Regions from separate parts of the Homo sapiens genome. Here region 1 is linked to region 2. The links are contacts of gene promoters, found by promoter capture Hi-C in human tissues and cell types (Jung and others, 2019). All regions are on one chromosome and are shown on one strand. Each heading gives the region's core, a stretch centred on a gene start or on the middle of the fragment in contact. The rest is flanking DNA. Distances are from core to core; before and after follow the strand shown. Region 1 holds the start of SMPD4 (sphingomyelin phosphodiesterase 4). Region 2 overlaps PLEKHB2 (pleckstrin homology domain containing B2).

Evidence for each region. Contacts are between HindIII fragments. The study calls those that stand out against the background at their distance.
Region 1: the fragment with the promoter of SMPD4 here is called in contact with a fragment that was not itself captured in region 2 in 1 of the 25 tissues and cell types used here (dorsolateral prefrontal cortex).

The regions. Positions count from the first base shown.
Region 1 is chr2:130,180,312-130,183,011 of GRCh38, forward strand. It overlaps SMPD4 (sphingomyelin phosphodiesterase 4), which reads right to left and starts at 1,291. Exons shown (of 20, transcript NM_017951.5): 1 at 1,219-1,291. It overlaps MZT2B (mitotic spindle organizing protein 2B), which reads left to right and starts at 1,951. Exons shown (of 3, transcript NM_025029.5): 1 at 1,951-2,141; 2 at 2,316-2,464. The coding sequence starts at 1,972. RefSeq lists an enhancer at 203-999 and silencers at 1,047-1,186, 1,697-2,206. The HindIII fragment of the contact is 11,545 bases long and covers 1-2,700 here.
Region 2 is chr2:131,106,362-131,109,061 of GRCh38, forward strand. All of the region lies in intron 1 of PLEKHB2 (pleckstrin homology domain containing B2), which reads left to right. Among named protein-coding and RNA genes, the nearest start is that of PLEKHB2, 2.4 kb to the left of the region's middle. The HindIII fragment of the contact is 3,190 bases long and covers 1-2,700 here.

The DNA.
Region 1 (2,700 bases), core at 41-2,540, 930 kb before region 2:
GCACAGGCTGGAGTGCAGTGGCGCGATCTCAGCTCACTGCAACCTCCGCCTCGCGGGTGCAAGCAATTCTCTTACTCAGCCTCCCAAGTGGCTGGGATTACAGGCGCCCGCTACCACGCCCGGCTAATTTTTGTATTTTTTACTAGAGACGAGGTTTCACCATCTTGGCCAGGCTGGTCTTGAACTCCTGACCTCGTGATCCACCCGCCTGGGCCTCCCAAAGTGCTGGGATTACAGGCGTGAGTCACCGCTCCCGGCCTCAATTCTTAACCTAGCTATCAACTGCAGTGTTAAAGAAAAACGCCTCAGTCCTAAGGCACTTGGTCAAGAAAACGCTGCACTACTACAAAATGATCAAAGCAGCATTAAACTGTGGACTGTTCGGTAAGTGCGGAGCTCTAGAGACGATGAAGGGGAGAGCATCTCTGCTCAGAAGAAGCTTTCATGGGCAGCGACTGAAAGAATGAGGCCCAGAGGAATTTCTAGGAAATTTCCAAGAAAGGAAATTCAAACCCGAGAATTCCCAAGAGGTGTCTCCCACACCCCTGTTATCTGACTCTGCCATGGCCACCCTCCCCCGTCACAGGTCTCTGCGTGCCATGCACCTAGAGTCCACTTCATGGCGACTCTCCAACACCTATTTTCTCCAGGAGCTGCTTCGGACCCCGTTTGTTTTTTGTTTTGTTTTGTTTTTCTGACAGCGACAGCCCTTGGGCAACGCTAATCATTCCAAGCAAATTCTGTCATGCCAAGACCTCCCTTAACAGCACGCGCCCACTTGTTCCCAACTCTCCTGCCAATTGGGCTTCGGGAGCCTCCAAAACCAAGGCTCGGAGATGTGGAGCACACAGGGGAAGGGTCGAGCTGGGACCCACACCCGGCTCTTACACCCACACCGCCTGTTGAGCCCAAGGCTCAACTTCAACACAAAGCTCTCCTTCCCTCAATTCCTTCAACGAAGGTTAACCTTCAGCGAACACCTACCGGACCGGGACAGAGTGTACGAGCCGCGCGGGAAGGTGGCACAAAGGCATGGCCCAGAGGGGTGGCAGAAGACTCAACCGGGGCCCTCCACTCCCCAGCCTGCCCTGCCTGGGCAGAGCCGGCTGGCCGGCCCGAGTCCTGGGGCTCGCGGAGGAACGGAGATGGCCTCCGCAGGGGCTCGGGGAAGCCCCCAGGGCGCCGGACCGTCTCAGGCGCGCATCCCGCGCCACTCACCTGTGGGATCCATAGCGTCGCTCGCCTCAGAGATGGAAGCCGCCATTCCGCCACGGCGCCGAAAGTCGTCATCAAGCTGCGCGCAGAGCCACGCCCCGCGGCCGGGCGGGAAAAGCGCTTCCACCTCTTTGGGCCGTTACCTCAAAAGGCGCGTGCGCAAAGCGAAGGCCGGCCGGGCGGGGAAGAGAAATGGCGAGGCAGGAGTGCGGGGGAGGGAGTGGTCCTTAGCTGAATGCGCCTGCGTTGTGGCGGCCTCCGGCGCCCCAAGGTACTTTCTCCCCAGCAAGGAATCCGCGTGCGCGTAAGCAGTATTGTTGATTAGTGCCCCCCCCTTCCCCCCGCCCGCCCCGAAAAGCGACCCCTAGTGGTGCACCGGTGCGGACCAGAAAATTGCACGCTTTCTTGAAAGAGGCATTTACCGAGCGCCCAATGTATGCCTGGCACTGGGCTGGGTGCTGCCACCTAAGCGAGCACGACCAATGCAGTCTATCAGGGAGGCCCAGATCGCCAAGCAGCGGACCCCTGCGGTCCGCCATGCCACTCCCGGCTCCTAGAGCGCCGCTCAGCACACCGTGAGCGCCCAATAACTGTTGGGCTTCAATGACGCCGCGGAGGCGGCCCCGTCCCCGCGCTCCCGCCCCTCCCGCCAGGGCAGCCCGGGAGGCCAGACGTTGACGCTGCAGGGAGAGGGTGGTGGGCGCAGCCGCTAGGGGGCGCGGCGGGGCGGAGCGCACCTTTCCGCGGGCCGCGGGGATGGCGGCGCAGGGCGTAGGGCCTGGGCCGGGGTCGGCGGCGCCCCCGGGGCTGGAGGCGGCCCGGCAGAAGCTGGCGCTGCGGCGGAAGAAGGTGCTGAGCACCGAGGAGATGGAGCTGTACGAGCTGGCGCAGGCGGCGGGCGGCGCTATCGACCCCGACGTGTTCAAGTGAGCGGGGCGGGTGGGGGCCGCATGCTAGCCAGACACCCCCCGACCTCTGCTTTCCGGGTACGCCCGGCCCGCTGGTCGGGAGGAGCCCCCGCCCCCGTCCTTGTCGGGTCTTCAGGGAGGTGGCCGCGCCGGGCGGAGAGGGCTCACCGGCCCCGCGTCTGTCCCCGCCAGGATCCTGGTGGACCTGCTGAAGCTGAACGTGGCCCCCCTCGCCGTCTTCCAGATGCTCAAGTCCATGTGTGCCGGGCAGAGGCTAGCGAGCGAGCCCCAGGACCCTGCGGCCGTGTCTCTGCCCACGTCGAGCGTGCCCGAGACCCGAGGTCAGAGCTGGGCCCGCTGTCCCTGCCCCAGTGGCGGGGGTGGCGGGCGGGGAGGGGGCAGGCGCGGCACAGCGGCGGCGTGGCCCTGAGTGGCCAGGCCTGTCTGTCGGTCTAGGCCCAGCACCTGCAGGGCCCATCCGTGGGCTCTGCTCCTGGGCTTCGCTGCCAGCCTTAGGAGGCACGTCCAGGTCAGGTGGACGCAGAGTGCGTACCCCAGGGTGGTCCAGGCTGGGTAG
Region 2 (2,700 bases), core at 10-2,509:
CTTCTGTGGCCTTTGGTATGAACCAGTACCAATTCAGGAAGTGACTTGTCCGAAGTCACATGAGGAATTAGGACCCGAGCTGGCACTGGTAACTGCCTGTTTAGTGTGGCCCTCAGTATTTGTTGACTAAACTAATGACCAAAACATGTATGCACAGACACAGCTGTGCGTCTGTGCCCATGCAGTGGGTGTGTCTGCCTAAGGACCTGTGGGGGTGTGGGAATACTGCTGTGACGGTTCAATTGTGGTGCTCAGGAGTGTTCCCTAGGTTCAGAAAGTTCCTAACCCTGGGCTGGTTGGCTGGATATTGATAGGACTGGAGCTTGTCTGGGCTTCCTTTGTGCCTGGTGTTTACTCTCTGTGGTGGTGATCTCTTTACTCGACTCTTCCCTATTCGTACTGATCTCCCTGAGGACAGGAATCAAACTGTGTTGCAGGGTTTCCCTAATAAACAGCATAGTGTTTGGCACTTTGTAGGTGGTCAGTAAATGCTTATTGAAGAAGGCTGCAGAAAAGAACTCAGAACCTGACAGCGGTTCTTTGCTAGCATTATATTTTAAAGGCGGTGGTACATTCTGTAAGTAAATTTCCTGCTATTCTCAAGGACTGAGTTGATTAAATGTGTACAGCAGTGGTATAGAGAGGACAGATACTCTTGTGGTGTTACTCCTTGGGAAGGTGGAGGTTTCTCTCAGCTCTTTCTGAAAGCTTTGCTTATGCTTTTCAGCTTGCATTAATATTTTTGTTTCTCCTTTCCTCTGCCTGCCTTCTTACTGTTTGTCTAAAGAAATTAAAGAATTACCTTATTAATAACAGTAACTACCAAAAACTGCAAAACACACTGTTAAAAATGCTCCCAAAGTGGGGGCTAATTGACCCAGTTGTTTTGTTAGTTATATATTTGCTTCCACAGTGGATCATGGAAACGGAAAGTTGGACTTCCTTGCCTCTTTGCTTTCTTTGCCTGTCTGCCCTTTGATGGTGCTTGTATTAGGCTTGTTGTTAAGAAGTGGTTCCCAACTGGAAATGGCCAATGCCACGTGGGAACTGACCTCTACATGTTGATGGGTCACCCAACCTTCTTTCCCTTCTGTTTCAGAATGTACCTGTGACATCTCTTTGACTCTCCACTGTTGCCCTTGAAGAACAGAGATGAGTTTTCTTCCTTTTTCATAAGGAAGCCACTTTTATAGCGAAAGAGAGCTGGAGAACTGGGATATCATGAGGAGTTGTAGACAGTTAAACCTGAATTCTAGCTTTTGGAACAAAATAGTAATGTAATTGTAGCAGTTCTCACTTTTTTATTTTTTATTTTTTTGAGACGGAGTTTCACTCCTGTTGCTTAGGCTGGAGTGCGATGGCGCAGTCTCGGCTCACTGCAACCTCCGCTTCCCGGGTTCAAGGGAGTCCCCTGCCTCTGCCCCCCAAATAGCTGGGATTACAGGCGTGCGCCACCATGCTCGGCTAATTTTTTGTATTTTTAATAGAGATGGGGTTTCACTATGTTGGTCAGGCTGGTCTCGAACTCCTGACCTCAGGTGATCCGCCTGCCTTGGCCTCCCAAAGTGTTGGGATTATAGGCGTGAGCCAACGCGCCTGGCCAATTCTCACTTTTGGACCATCTACTACAGGGCTGTTTGGACATACCTCCTTTAATTGTCACAGTAACCCCATGACGTAATTGGTTGTGCCTGGTCATACAGGTAAGAAAACTGAGGCTTAGAGAGGTTTAGAATTTTGCTGAAGGTCATACTAGTGAGTAGAAGGCAAAGTAGGCTTCAGGCTTAGAACTGTCAGATTCCAAAGGCAGTATTTTTTGTCCATCTGTTGTCTGTTTCGATTCAATGCTTTCAAAGAGATACAAATTCAAATTTAAAATAATTTAAATTGTTGAATATGGCTTACATTTTAAAGCTTTGCATAGGTTTTATTGGCATAAAAATAATGTTCTTTTGCAGCTAGTTTGCTGGTGTTTTATTCTCTAGAGACCAACAGCTAGGGCTTAGTGTTTATCTGATGAGTTTTAGTTTATGCATTCAGTTTTGCTCCAGGATATAAATAGTGAAATGTTGAATTAAGTTATGGAGTGGTGTGAAATTCAGCATGCTAAGGCAATCAAACAGAAGTCTTCTGAGCCATTTGAGAAGCAGCTTGATGTCCTTGTTCTTAGAACAGGGCTGTCCAATCTTTAGACTTTCTTGGGCCACATTGGAAGAAGGCCATACATAAAATACACTAACCCTAATGATAGCTGATGCACTAAAAAATAAAATTGCAAAAAAATCTCATAACGTTTTAAGAAAGTTTACAAATTTGTGTTGGGCTGCATTCAAAGCTGACCTGGGCTGGGGCCATGAGTTGGACAAGCTTGTTCTAGAATATTTTCGGCAAATTTTGGTAAGGGGGAAAATAAGTAATAGTAATAATAGTAGTAAATAGTAATAATTGCTGTCAAAGCAGCTACCATTTATCGAGTTCTAGTAACTGTGAGGCACCATGCCAACTACTTACATATTATTTCACCCAATTTTCCGAACATCCTGTCAAGTAGGTGGTGGGAATTTTCGTTTTATAGATCAGGCTTGGAAACGTGACTTGTCCGATTGAGTCAGGATCTGAACATAGGTCTTTTAACTCTAAAGCTTATACCCAAACACTGGGTTCTGTGAAATTTCAAAAGCATATGATAGGCTGACTGCA